Regions from separate parts of the Homo sapiens genome. Here all the other regions are linked to region 1. The links are contacts of gene promoters, found by promoter capture Hi-C in blood cells and fetal thymus (Javierre and others, 2016). All regions are on one chromosome and are shown on one strand. The core of a region is centred on a gene start or on the middle of the fragment in contact, and the rest is flanking DNA. Distances in the headings are between cores, read along the strand shown. Region 1 holds the start of NHS (NHS actin remodeling regulator). Region 2 overlaps NHS (NHS actin remodeling regulator). Region 3 overlaps NHS (NHS actin remodeling regulator). Region 4 overlaps NHS (NHS actin remodeling regulator).

Evidence for each region. Contacts are between HindIII fragments. The CHiCAGO score rates a contact against its expected background, and 5 or more counts as called.
Region 2: a fragment that was not itself captured here is called in contact with the fragment with the promoter of NHS in region 1 in 1 of 17 cell types (monocytes); the score reaches 5.4 in monocytes.
Region 3: a contact is called between a fragment that was not itself captured here and the fragment with the promoter of NHS in region 1, in 2 of 17 cell types (M0 macrophages and M1 macrophages). The highest score is 7.1, in M0 macrophages.
Region 4: a contact is called between a fragment that was not itself captured here and the fragment with the promoter of NHS in region 1, in 1 of 17 cell types (neutrophils). The highest score is 5.8, in neutrophils.

What each region holds. Positions count from the first base shown.
Region 1 is chrX:17,373,429-17,376,819 of GRCh38, reverse strand. It overlaps NHS (NHS actin remodeling regulator), which reads right to left and starts at 1,620. Exons shown (of 9, transcript NM_001291867.2): 1 at 498-1,620. The coding sequence starts at 1,062. The HindIII fragment of the contact is 7,271 bases long and covers 1-3,391 here.
Region 2 is chrX:17,614,108-17,617,498 of GRCh38, reverse strand. The region is part of intron 1 of NHS (NHS actin remodeling regulator); the gene reads right to left. Among named protein-coding and RNA genes, the nearest start is that of NHS-AS1, 57 kb to the right of the region's middle. The HindIII fragment of the contact is 3,133 bases long and covers 1-3,099 here.
Region 3 is chrX:17,595,726-17,599,116 of GRCh38, reverse strand. All of the region lies in intron 1 of NHS (NHS actin remodeling regulator), which reads right to left. Among named protein-coding and RNA genes, the nearest start is that of NHS-AS1, 38 kb to the right of the region's middle. The HindIII fragment of the contact is 8,896 bases long and covers 1-3,391 here.
Region 4 is chrX:17,576,027-17,579,417 of GRCh38, reverse strand. The region is part of intron 1 of NHS (NHS actin remodeling regulator); the gene reads right to left. All of the region lies in intron 1 of LOC101928389 (a long non-coding RNA gene), which reads right to left. Among named protein-coding and RNA genes, the nearest start is that of NHS-AS1, 19 kb to the right of the region's middle. The HindIII fragment of the contact is 6,957 bases long and covers 1-3,391 here.

The sequences.
Region 1 (3,391 bases), core at 371-2,870:
CGCGGTGCTGCAGCAGTCTCAAAAGAACACTCACTACTCCTGGAACCCCCAACCCTGAACATGCATGGTGTGGGCTACAGGGCTCAGGGCTGGGCTTCTGGAAACCACAGGAGTTGCAACCCTCCTCCCTACGCCCCGTGAAGGACGTGAAAGGCGAGCCCCGGTGGTGAAGGACAGACCCTCTCTGCCTCCTGTGCTCCCCATAAACGCTCCCTTTCTGCTCCTTCTCAGCCCACGCTGCCTGCGACTTCAGAGGTCGCCCTTTTAACTTTCCACCGTCCACGTCTGCATCACTGAATCGGGGTCCAGCCCAGCCACTCAGCCCCAGGAGGATTGGGGTGGGTCCCAGGGGATGGGAAGGGTGGGAAGGCGAGAGTAGTAAGGTGCAAGCTGCAACCGGAGCGGCGCCGCGGGGCTGGGATTGCCGCTGCTGGGGAGGGCGCGAGGGTGCGGCGCAGAAACCCATAGCCTGGCGGGCGGACGGCGCGGGTACTCACGCACTGCCTCCTGCTTAGGGTCAAGCGTGCTGAGGACGCGCTGCACGCCGCCGAGCTTGCCCTGCAGCGCCCAGACGCGGCGGTGGGTGAGCTGGATGTCGCTCTCGAGCTCCTGGAAGAGGCTGCAAGCGTGCCGGGCCACGTCCGAGAGCTGCCGGAGGACACGGGCCAGAGCGGCGTTGCTGACCGCGCATAGGTCCAGCATGAGCAGCACGGCCGCCGCCGCCGCCGCCGAGGACGCCTCGCCGGCTGCGGGCGCCGCCTCCGGGATCCCCGCCGTGCTCTCCTCGCCAGCCACGGACGCCTCTCCGTGCGGCGGCTGAGTCTGGTCGGCCGGCGCGGGCAGTGGCGGCGGCGGCGGTGGCAGCCCTGAAGGTGCAGGGACGGCGCGGGCTGGCTCCTCTGGCCCTGGCGCCTCGACCTCGTCCAGGTCCCTCCGGCCCGGCGGCTGCAAGGGCGGCGGCGGCTCAGCGCTGCCTCCGCTCGCGTCCACTGCTGGGCCGGGCGCAGGGCGCCGCTGCCTGCACAGCCATTGCGGCTCCACGATCCGCTTGGCGAAAGGCATCCCGCGCAGCCAGGCGGCGACTTTCTGGTCTCCTCCAAGCGCCCCTGTGAGCTGGAGACCGGGCGCGCCCACCTGAGCAGGGAGGGGGCAGGAGTCCGGCAAAAGCGCGATCTGGCAGTCCGGATACGCAGGGGGCTTCTCTGCTCACCTTGCCTCCTCTTCCCCGCCCTCTCCCTAGCAAATCAGTCCAGCCAGTCCTCCTTTGGGTGCACCGTTCCCTGGGGAGGATGACAAGCGCTCCGCACAGAAATTTAGGGGTGCGCCTGGTCTCTTCTCACTTGCTTCCAACCAGGGTCGACTGGCTCAACTCCATCGTTTCTGTGCTCGCCGTCGCCACCCCGGCCACTGCCGTCGCCGCCGCCTATATAAATGGGCGTGCGTGTGTCTGTGTGTGTGTGGGTGAGTGGGTGGGTGGGTGTGAGTGTGTGCGCGCGCCTCAGTTTGAAAGTACCCCGGCGCAGGCCTCTCCCCGCGCGCCCCTCGGCCGCTCCGGGGAGCGATTGCGCCCGGGATCTCTCTCCCTGGCTGGGCGGGGAGGAGGTTTCGGAAAGGCGCTCTGAAAACCCGGAGAGAGGAATCTGCCTCCAGCCCGGGCGCAGGAGGCCGCGCGGGGGTGACGGGGCGGACGCAGGGCGGGGGAGGCCGGGGCGAGGGGGGCGCAGCGCCCTGTGCGGCCGCTGGGAGTCACTGGTGGCCTCGCCGTGCTGGGCGCGTTCAGGCGCAAAGACACTTCCTCACATCCAAGGGGTTGGAATTGAGACTGTCAGCGTGGTGGGGGCGGGGAGTCCTCAAGTTGGGAGTAGGGGTGTGGGCAGTAAGCGCAGAGGGAAGAGGGTGGGGTATTGAGGATGCGGCAGATTTGGCGTGTTGGAGCAAGTTTTTCGCCGAATTCCAGCTCTGTACAAGACCTTTGGGTTCTTACAGGGAAAACTGGGCTGCTCCTTGGAGATCCCCGGGCTCTATGAACGCAAGGAGACAACTGGGGAGGGCAAAGGGCGTAGGCGCATCTCCATGTGGCCAGAGCAGCCAGAGTGCTGTTTATACCCCTTCCCAGGCATCACGTGGCCCCCTGTTTTGGGCACGGGCTCTATAGAATATCGTGAATGAGACCCAAACCACCAATGAGCAAAATCCCCAGAAAACTGCTTACGAAACTCATTGCACGTTGGGTGAGATAAACGGCATTACCTCCTCGTCACCCTACTGTGCTGATCATACACAGGATTTTTAAAGTTCTCCATCAGAGAGATGATGATTTACAGAAGAAGGGAAAGTTTTCCCCTTCAGTTAACTGAAAGGTATAATTTCTAAAAAGGCATGCATTTTCGATTGCAGCAGGCTGCAGGCTGTATGCCGTCAGTAAAAAGAGTTTGGGAAATGTTAATAAAACACGTGCTTTCATGCCTCCAAAAAGTATACTGTAAAAATATTTTTTATTTTAAAGCCACAAGCCAGATCTTGGGAATGCAGCCTCTTTTCGTGTTTCTAAAGAGAACATGGAAAAAATATGTTTTATGGCAACAATAAAGTCCTCCAGACCTGCGGTGGTGTCTCCTCTCCTCCCTCTAAAGGCGGGAGAGGGAGGAGGCTCCAACAGTCAGCACTTTGGACTGGCCCACGCTTTGGTTTTAAAGGCTTCAACAGACCCTTGTCTTATTCTACAAAACAAAAAAAAAAAAACAAAAAAAAACCAAAATTTTCGGCAAGGACATATCCTTGTTCATAAAAGATCCAGGCTGAGGCTTTGGGGGTAAAGGGCCATGATGTCTGCAAAGTACACATAAATGTTTCAGTAACAACAAGAAGAAGAATGATGATAATAAAGATGTGTATGTATGAAGGGAGAAAAAAACAAAATATGGCAAAATGTTCAAAATAGTCTAGGTTAAGGGCATATCAGGGTTCATTGTACATTTCTTGCAACTTTAAATTTGGTTTTGTTTCCAAATAAAAAATGAAAGAAAAGAATATTTTGGAACAAGGTCTTTTAAGGTTTGTTTTTTATCTCACAAATCTGAAAAGCGTTGAGCTAGCTGTTTTTAAATTGAGCTTGACTTTTTAATACGTTCAAAATTCTGAACATGAGTTCTGCTGGGTAGGCAAGCCAGACACTTCTCCCTAAACACATGGAAGCATGGAGAACAATGAGGGATATTAAAGGCATCTGGTTAGCAAGCCTTGTGGCAACAGGCTGCCCTGCCTCTCACTCTCCCTTACCTAGCACTGTCCTATTAATAGCAAGGGTGCCAGTGGAGCGGGCCCATCTGAGCATTGACAGGGGCAATGAATAAGTGGTGTGGGACTCTCACTCCTAAAGGGAGTTTCAGAT
Region 2 (3,391 bases), core at 284-2,783, 240 kb before region 1:
ACTTGAAGGAAGGCGAAAAATATATTCAATTCTTTTGGATTTGGAAAATATGCTATTTGGCTGAGAAAGATGTTTTCCACATATTTGATCACCCAAAAGCAGTTAAGCACTGAAACGTCAAATATGTTATAATCTAATCAAAGCCATGAGCATCTAAAAACATGGCATCCCGGTGCTGTGGACGATAAAACATGCAGTTGACTCATGTGCTGTGAGATGCTGGTGTAGACCTTGGCTGCAGAAGGAAGCACAGATCAGTGTGGTTGCGTAGGGGCAGCTGCAGTATAGACGCAGACCCCAATTCACAGCCTAGCCTGGCCAACAAACCCGGGAATTACACAGGCCCTTTCATCCCTGGATTTTCAAGTGCTTTGTCAACAGAATCCTATTACTTTCACGACAGTCCCGGGAAGCCAGCAGTAGGCCCCAGTTTCACAAAGCTGATGGCAAGGCTGGAGAGAAAAGGCAGCTGGCTAATCGAAGGTCTCTAATAACTATCCCTGTCACACTTTTTTTTCTTTTACAATTAAATTACGAGGACAGAGGAATAAGCTGAATGATACTTAGAAATCTTTGTGCCCTAAGACTGTATGCCCCGAAACAATTGCTACTAGTCACATGTGGCTATTGGGCATTTGAAACAAGGCTAGTATGTCCAAAGAATGGAATTTAAAAATTTTGTTTAATTTTAATTAATTCAAATGTAAATGTACAGGCTGATATTAAATCCAGTTATTGGGAAAATTTTAAATACATTTGGAAGAATTTGGATATGTGTATCTACTTTTTCAACTGTAAATTTTATGAAATCTAAATACATATCAAGTATTTCTGATGAAAATTAAGCATTTGAATTAAGATGCACTGCACGTGTGCAATGGATATGGGATTTTGAAGACAATACAAAAAATATGAAACATCGCATTAATAATTTTAAAATATTGATTGCATTTTGAAATGGTAATAGTTTGGACATTTGGGCTAAATAAAACACATAATCAAAACTAACATCACCTGCTTCTTTTTACTTTTGTAATTTCATTATTAGATATTTTTAAATGACATCTGTGTTTTGCATTGTATTTCTAAGGTACAACTATATTCAAGAATGAAAAGAGATTTGCACAAGCAGATGTCATCTACCTGCCCAGCCAAGTTGTTGTCACAGATGCGCATACATACAGACCCACCCAATGTATAAAATAACAAATGGCAACCAAAAATCTACTGCCAAGATCTCTGAAGAGGTGGCGCCACCCAGCCAACTGGGGATTGTGACAGAAGTGACAGTGTCTCAACTTGACTTGCCCTTTGAAGGACTTTGGACAAATGAATCCCTTTAGCCATCCTTACAGCAGCAAATGCTAATCTTTCTTTACCTTTGATACAGGGATATCGCTCACTCTGTTCATTTACCAGGTTGTCATTAGGGCCAGGCCACTAGCTGGTTGCTATAGTGGGCCACAGAGACAAATAAGACATAGTCCCTGGCTCAAGGGGTTTGCAATCTAATTGTTTTCAAGCACGTAATTAACTATTTTTTTAAAGTTAGACTGAACTAAATGCTGAAATTGAGCTCACAATAAAGGGCTCCCAGAGCATAAGGGTGAACAGTGATGAATTCTGCCTATGGATATCAATCAGGGTGGGCTTTCCATGCAGTAACACTTAAGATGAACTGTGATAGGCATGCAGGATGTTGTCGGTGGGGTGGGGGGGTGGGCAGTGCAGATGATGTAAACAGCTGAGCCAAGGAATGCATGTAAATGGATAGTGCGTTCAGGGAATGGTGTGGGGGAAAAGGGAGAGAGGTCCTGACAGATGAGGTTTGAAAAGTCCAAAGGGACCAAACGACAAGTGAATCAGTTGAGACTAGTGTGGTTTTGGAGGAGAGGAGTGATGGGCTCATGGAGACCATGGCAATACTCCAAGCAAGAAACAGCAAGAGCATGGCTGGGTGCAGTGGCTCACGCCTGTAATCACAGCACTTTGGGAGGCCGAGGTAGGAGGCTTGATCCCAGGAGTTGGAGACCAGCCTGGACAATATGGAGGAACCTCATCTCCACAAAAAAAAAAAAATTAGCCGAGTGTGTTGTCATGCACCTGTAGTCCCAGCTACTCAGAAGGCTGAGGTGGGAGGATCACTTGAGCCCAGAAGACTGATGCTACAGTGAGCCATAAGTGTGCCACTGCACCCCAGCCTGGGCAACAGAGTGAGACCATATATATATATATATGTGTATATATGTGTATATATATACGTATATATATGTGTATATATACGTATATATATACGTATATATGTGTATATATACTATATATATACGTATATATATAGTATATATACACGTATATATATACACACATATGTATATGTGTGTATATATATATATACATATATATATACACACATATATATATATATGTATGAATGACAAGAGCCTGCCCTGGGACAGGGAAAGAAAAAGTGAGAAAGAGAGGGAAGATGCAAAAGGCATAGTGGAGGAATATTAAGCTATCAGGGAAGTAAGGGAAGAGGGAAAGGAGCTCATGGTGTTGTCATTAAGTGAGATTAGGGAACACAGGAGGAAGGAGAGATGTGACATGATATGATGTCTGAAAAAAAGCACTGCAAACTCTTTGGAAGAAAGCCTGGATTAACACAAGACATTGATAACAGACCACAGGCCCATGAACCTACCTAATGTCTAGTGTGGTACTTGGCTGTTAGCAAAAACCTTTATCACACAATGAAGATGGGAAATTGCTAAGGAGGGGAAAAAGTTCATTTTGTGACTTCCTGAGTTAATTTTCAAACGTGAGGTAGCATGAGTGTAGATTGTTGACACTTAATACATGTAACACTGGAAATGAAACAAACACATATCAAGCATGGGTGCTGGAGTCCTAACAATACACCTATAATCAGTTGTAAGTCAAAGCTCTGCCCTTGGAAAATGTAACCCGCTGTGATGAAAGGATTATGTAATTTTTTCAGGGTCAAACTTATGAGAGGGTTTGCTTGTACAAGTGGAACATACACCAACACCCCCACCCCCACCACCGTTGCAAGGAGAGCTCAGGTTTCAAAAGCAAGCTTTCTGCCTAGCCCTAGCCCTCAGGCTGAGGTTCTGTGGTTTCAGATTGGTTTTGGCTTCAAGCAAAGGCAAGTCCTTCCTTCTGCTCTCAGAACTAATTCCAGCATTTATGGTTGAGCCTTGCGGCCTCTTGTCTGCTGACCATGTGAGGAGCTTCAAAGTCTTTGAGATGTGATTATTTGTTCTGTCAACAGCTCCACGCCTCTGAAAAGTGAGGGCCACTGCTTATAGCTATCACTCATCCTCTCTCTCTCCCTGTATTCACAACAGTGCAGACTTTCTTCTGGAGGACG
Region 3 (3,391 bases), core at 399-2,898, 220 kb before region 1:
ATATGTTCAGAAAATGAAATACTACAAAGCAACAAAAAGAAGGAAATTTGAACTATACTCAACAACCAGGGTGATGCAGAGGGAAAGAAATCAGACACAAGAGAAAGTAGGCTGTATTATTCCACTTATACAAGTTCAAAAAACAGTTCAAACTAATCAATGAAGGAAAAATCAGTATACGGGTTATCCTTGGGGTGGGGAGTGAAATGAAGGGGCTCTTCTGGGGCCAGTGATCTTTGGGGTTTTTTTGTGAGGAGAGTAGGTACTTAGGTGTGTTCAGTTTGTGAAAATTCAAGGAAGTGTACACTTAGGATTTGTGCATTTTTCTATATGTATACCATTTTATGAAAGCAATCCACGTTTTCTTTGGGGAAAGAAAGGTCAATATAGTGAATATAGAAAGGGTCAATACAGTGAATATAGACTCTAAACTAGATTGCCTTGGTTCAAATCCCAGGTTTACCACCTGTAAGCTGCATGACCCTAGGGAAGCCATGAAGCCTTTTTCACCTGTATGCCCTTATCTGTGAAGTGAGGATAATGATAGTACCTTTGTTGTGGGTTGTTGTGACAATCTAATAGGTTAATATTTGTACAACGCTAGTGTAAGGCACAGGGTAGGCATCATATAAGTGTTTTTTAAATAAAAGTTTTCTTTGTGGGGGCACACTTAAAAATGTCTTTTGATGATCACTAACTACTTTAAAGGAGACTAAAGAAGAGTTAAGGAAATAAGAAAGGAGTTAAACTTATTTCCTAGGCAGCATTCTTGCTTATGAGGGAAAAATATTATCTTGGCGCCTGGCCAGTTAATTCTGTTCTTCTTGACTTGGAGTCTGGACTCCCAACAGGCTCCGGGCATTGGTCCAGAGGCTTGACAACGAGCCACATCTGGGACTGCCAGGAACTGCCACAAAAGAGTCCGCCCAAGAAGGCCTGTTGGAATTGCTGGGGAGGGAGAGTGCCATCCAGTCAGGACCCATGCCAGGACACAGCCCCCTGAGTCTACCTGCTGGGTAGGGCAGGCCCTGAACCCTGGCCTTTCCTCTAGCTCCCAGTCAGAACCTTCCCTTCCATCACAGGTCTCCTCCAAAAAGAGCTGACTAAGACAGGGCTGCATTCATAGACAGGAAAAGAAAAGAAAGAGAAGAGAGAGAATCAAGCAGGAGTGTCCTACCCTCCTAGAAATGAGCCTGCGATCATTCTGGGCACCCTCTCTCGCTTGGGTTTGTTCTTCACTGAACATCCCTAGTGAATGAGGAGCCTGAGGAGTGTCTCCTTTTACAGGCAACCTCCAGAGTCCACCACAATCAGGTACCCGCGGTGTGGCTCGACCCACTCTTCCTCTCCCTGTTACTTTCTGACACAGCTGGCTCTTCAATCAAAGCTGAGTTCCCTCTTATCTAATCCTTTGCTTTAGGAAGTTTAACTCACCCTCTAAAGCCTGTGCCTGGAAAAAAAATAAACCCAAATGAGAACAATTTTTATCTCCCATTATGAGTGGAAGTGAATCTCCTCTAGCTTGGCAACTCTCCAGGAATATCCCACTAATTTTTAAGTCATTTCTAGCCTGCTCTCTTCTTTTGCTCTTTCTCCAGCTCTCTTCCAAATGCTCACTGAGGAAGAGTGTATCCCTTGTCCCTACCCCTGCCAGTTTTTTGTTTTTTCTTAAAAAAAAAAAAAAAAGAGAATAGCCAGGCGCGGTGGCTCACGCTTGTAATCCCAGCACTTTGGGAGGCCGAGGTGGGCGGATCACGAGGTCAGGAGATCGAGATCATCCTGGCTAACACAGTGAAACCCCGTCTCTACGAAAAATACAAAAAAATAAAATTAGCCAGGCATGGTAGCGGGCGCCTGTAGTCCCAGCTATTTGGGAGGCTGAGGCAGGAGAATGGCGTGAACCCGGGAGGCGGAGCTTGCACTGAGCCGAGATCGCGCCATTGCATTCCAGCCTGGGTGACAGAGCAAGACTCCGTATCAAAAAAAAAAAAAAAAAAAAACGGAAGAATAGTCTTAAGTTCCTGAAGCCGTGTATGACACACTGGCTAGTTTTACACCAAAACATTTCCCTTTACACCTTGGGCACACAGATGACTCTATTTCCCAGCCTCCCTTGCATGTTAGTGGGGCCACGTGACAGTTCTGGCCAGAATATAGGTGGGCCCATAAAACCTCCACGCTATCCTCCACACTTTCTCTTTGCCTCATCTGCAGTCTGGATGCAGTAGCTGAGGTGGACTTGGAGGCCTTAGGGCACAGGGAAGTCATAAAATGGAAGGAGCCTGGGAGTCTGAATGCCTGCGTGGAACACAGGTCCTGATCCCTCACTTCCCCACTCCCATGCCTGGAATGTGACATGAACAAGAAATAAACTTTGTGTGAAGCCCCTGAGACTTGGAGTGGCTGGCACTGACTAATATACCAAATTCCAGACTCTCAAACTTTCTACAAACTGGAATACCACATTCCTCTCTCCCAATGGTTCCCTGTGCAGTCATCTTTGACCTCTCTGCATGGTAGGCCAAACCTGGAGCATGAACACCAAAATCCCACATCCTAACCCTTAACCTTTGACCTTGGTTCATGCTTCAACTTTTAATTTGGTTTCCTGCCTGTTGATTAAAATATATTTGTTGGAAGTGAATTGAAAGTCTCAGAAATGGTGCCTGTTATTTCCATAACTGAGTCTTCAAGCCATATGCTCTGTGTATCCATCTGGGCATGTCTGGGATATTTGAATTAGTCCCATTGGCTGCATTGTAGACAAGCAAGCAAAGAGATTGGAAGCTGCCAAGTCCCTCTATGATAGACAGGTCCTCCCAAGCCATCCTTCCCATTCTAAGGAAGAACAATTACAAGCACATTACTAAGAACAAGCCATTCATCATCCAGACTTTGCCTCTGTCTTGACTTGCATCCATAGTGACAAGATACAGGCAGTTTTGTGGTAAACAGAGGCTGTCACAGACCTACAGACTGAAAAACTGAGTGAATTTGTTTGGCTTTGTGAGATTTGAAGCTACCAGATTTCAATAAATAGTGGTGAGTACAAAAAATCTTCATCTTTTTTTTTTTGGAGGGAGGGAGTAGGTAAGCAAATTGTCTGTAATTTAACTCCAGCCCAGGGCTCTGAACATCCTTCAGTAAGTTCTTATTTGGTGGGAAATTGGAACTCCTAGAGCCATATAAATTCACTTTTCCGCTATTAAAGAACCAACACAAGTAACTGTTTGACTCAAGTTAACATTCACTCCTTGGAATAGATGATAAGTAAATATTTACCCACTGGCATAGCTGTTGAGTAATTGCCCATTAAAGAAGTTAAATGTTAATCACTTATTTCTGGACTGAATAATTTCAACAAGATCCTATGACTAATCCATAAAGTCTA
Region 4 (3,391 bases), core at 639-3,138, 200 kb before region 1:
AGAAGCAAGGCTGCATTCAAATCAAAATAGCATCAGGAAAAAATGCCTACAGAAAGTTCCGCTTTTTCTCATTCATTGTTAACACACTAAAATAAAGCACTCTATAAATACGAAGGACTAGGATGTTTGGAGAGCATCAACCTACTCAAGTTTAAAACATGACACACATTCCTGAGGAGCTAACTGTAAATTGTGTCATGTACTGAGAATTATTTTTTTCACTTTTTACTTGCTTTAAAACGCAAGACTTCCCGGCCAGAATGATATGATCAGGGGAAATGTTTCTTGCCTAGAAATGGCAATAAATGTTTAAAAGGAATTTGAATTTCACCAGGCTTACAAATCCGAATTTGATTTCCTGCAACTGAACTTTTGGCTGAGATAATTTACTGAGTGAGTTACTTGATTTTCCACTACAACACACCTTTTTGTACACTGGTACACACTCACACACATACACACACACTCACACACATGCGCACAGAGTCAGGGGGTGGGAGCATTATCCTTTGACTCCAATAAAGCGCTTCAAACACCCTCTCCAACACTGCAGGAGATGAGAGCAGTGCCGCAAGATACTAGCGAACACTTATTGAGCACTTACTATATGCCAGGTACAGTTGTAAACAGGTTTTTCTTTGTTTGTGGAAATACAATCTGCTCATGAAATATCTTGGACAGATAGATCTAAGAACTGGCTATTTACCAGTTTTGATTATTTTATAACACCAATTGAATTTCTGCCATATGTGAGAAAACAGTCCAGCCTTACTTCTTGTTGCTAATGGCTGTTATTACACATGAAACTATACTGTTTACACTCTTGAGTATTTCGATATATAGGAACTCACTGAATCCATACACCCTATGCAGCCAGTTACTATTCCAGCCCCACTTCACAGAGAAGGAAACTAAAACACAGAGAAGTTAAATGACTTCCTCAAGATCACTTAACCTATAGGTGGCAGAGACAGAATTGGAACCCCGGCAGTTGGGCCTCGAGCCTACTTTCTTAGCTAACTAACCCAATGCTGGGATGCAGGAGGCATCTACCTCTACCCACATGTAACCTTGATGAAGGATATACCTCTTGGGCCTCAGCACCCACAACTAAGAACTCAGATTATTCTTCATAGTTACTGAGAATATACAATTTTCTGATCATTTCCAACATCTGGAAAATGCTAAAAGTCTTTAACATGAGGTATTGGATGTTGGCATAATTAAAGAACATCATTAACCACAGGATTGTTCAGAGAAGCTGTTATAGCCTCTATTGTGTACACCCTTCAAGAGCATTTATGAAATGCTTACTACATATTTAACAAACATATTTTATATTATTTCTAGGACAAGAATGGTGCTAGTTTCATGGCTAGCACAGTAACACCTAACAGGCACTCACACAAACAAGTTTGTTGAATGAATGAATGAATAGCTGGAAGTTATATCAGGGCATATATGTTCTATTAAACTGCAGAACTATAGTACTGGAGGAGTCCTTAGAAACATTCTCATTTAACCACCCTGCCAAAACACTCCTATCCCTTTTTAAAGATGAGAAAATGGAAAGAGTTTGATGAAGTACAGAAAGTAGAGGAAGGGAGACAAGACAGAATGAGGTAGACACAGACAGGCTTCTAACTCTGAGTCAGTTTCCATATTTCTTCATTATTATCTTTAGAGCCAACTTTCAGCATGTCAGCCAATAAACCAGGAACACTTTCCAAAGTCAAATGTGAATGATTTCTGAGGTGTTGGCAGGTTTTTTTGGCCACCTTCTATTAGTATGAAAAATTGAGGTTTTCAATTTAAAGTGGGTATTTCAATTTAAAGTGGATATTTAATCCACTTTAGATCAAATGTTAAAATTCAGGTGGCTAAGGGCATATAGATGTTTGACTCTAAGCCTGGTGTAAGACATTCATCATATTCCATTTTCCAATTTAGGCACATAATATAAGAGGCATTTGATCTAATAAAAATGAAGAAGATTCAACTCATGACTTCTATAGCAAACTATCAGTAACCCGAGAAATACAAAGCACAGAGGTTCCAGGTGCCTGGCATCTCCAAAAGTCGCCTTTATTTTCTTGTGCATTTGAACCTTTTCTCAAATTAAGTCCATGAGGATTTGAATGGATCCATCATAATTCCCTAGGCTCCTAGTTATCTTTCATGAATTCTGATTATGGTTCATAAAAATGTATAATCTACTTCATTAAGACACTAGGGAAGTTGATGGACCCTGGAAGTTTGGAGTGTAGTGTAGTGTTAAAAGAAGAAACAATGGCTACACTTAACAGCTGGGAAGGATATTTATGTCAGTTCCATTTGATCTTCCTACTGGCAGGGGGATTAGGAGAAGGAGGAAAACCAGAGAAGGATGTCGGGTCTAAAATCACAATCTCGGGCAACTGAGGTCCACCAGATAACCTTTAGGGCATTTTCTTTCTTTCCTTGTTTGTTCTCCTGTCTGTGCACTGGGAGGAGAATGAACATACTATTTGTTTTCTTTGAAGATTTGCTTCTGATGAGAGATTTTGGGAATGCATCAAGGCTGGATAAGTGCCCATCCCTCAACCTTGAGATGCTGTAAATTGAACAGAACTGGATAGGGTCCATAAGTCGCCTTTCCCCATCACTGCTTCTCATGAAAGGGAAAACAATCGTGTGTTTATCCTCACCATTGACAGTGTGCAGATGTGTTTTCTTAATGGCACCTGCGACACGTTTATTTATCCTCTTGGGTGCTTAGAGCCTGTGCGTTTCACATCTTTTCCAGCTGTACAGGGCAAGGCTGTTGGTAACCTTCTGTTTTTCAAACTAATTCTCTTACTCTGGATTGTTTGTTTTATTTTTAAGTAATTTAACCCACACAAGTAGCCCTTGGGAGAAGGGTTATTTAATCAAGGGAAAGTTGTTTAGAACACCACCCATGAGATCTTCCCATAGTTCACCCTTTGGCCAGGACAAAGGTGGGGTGATGAGAAAAAATGTGATTTGCCTTGGATCAGTCTTCCTGAGAAAAATTCAAGGAATGTCAGCAAGGTGGGAAGAGACCAAATCTATACATCTCGTTACCCTTATCAGAGAATATCTCTAGTAATCATACAAAGAAGAAATTAACTTCCAAAGGTGCAAAGCTGAATTCTGGTTCACTTTCTGTAATATTAAATTATTGGAGGGTGAATATATACATGACTGATTATCTGTGAGTCAGAGATTCAACTATTTTGGGTGGCTGAGGATAGTGAGAGAATAACATATTAGGTATTCTATAAGTGCTATTCAGGGAATAACATTCCCTGGATACTCTAGACATCGAGAGAACTATTGAACTTCTAATATCCCTCTATTTTTCACTCTGCATCCTGCCACAAGGCCAAGA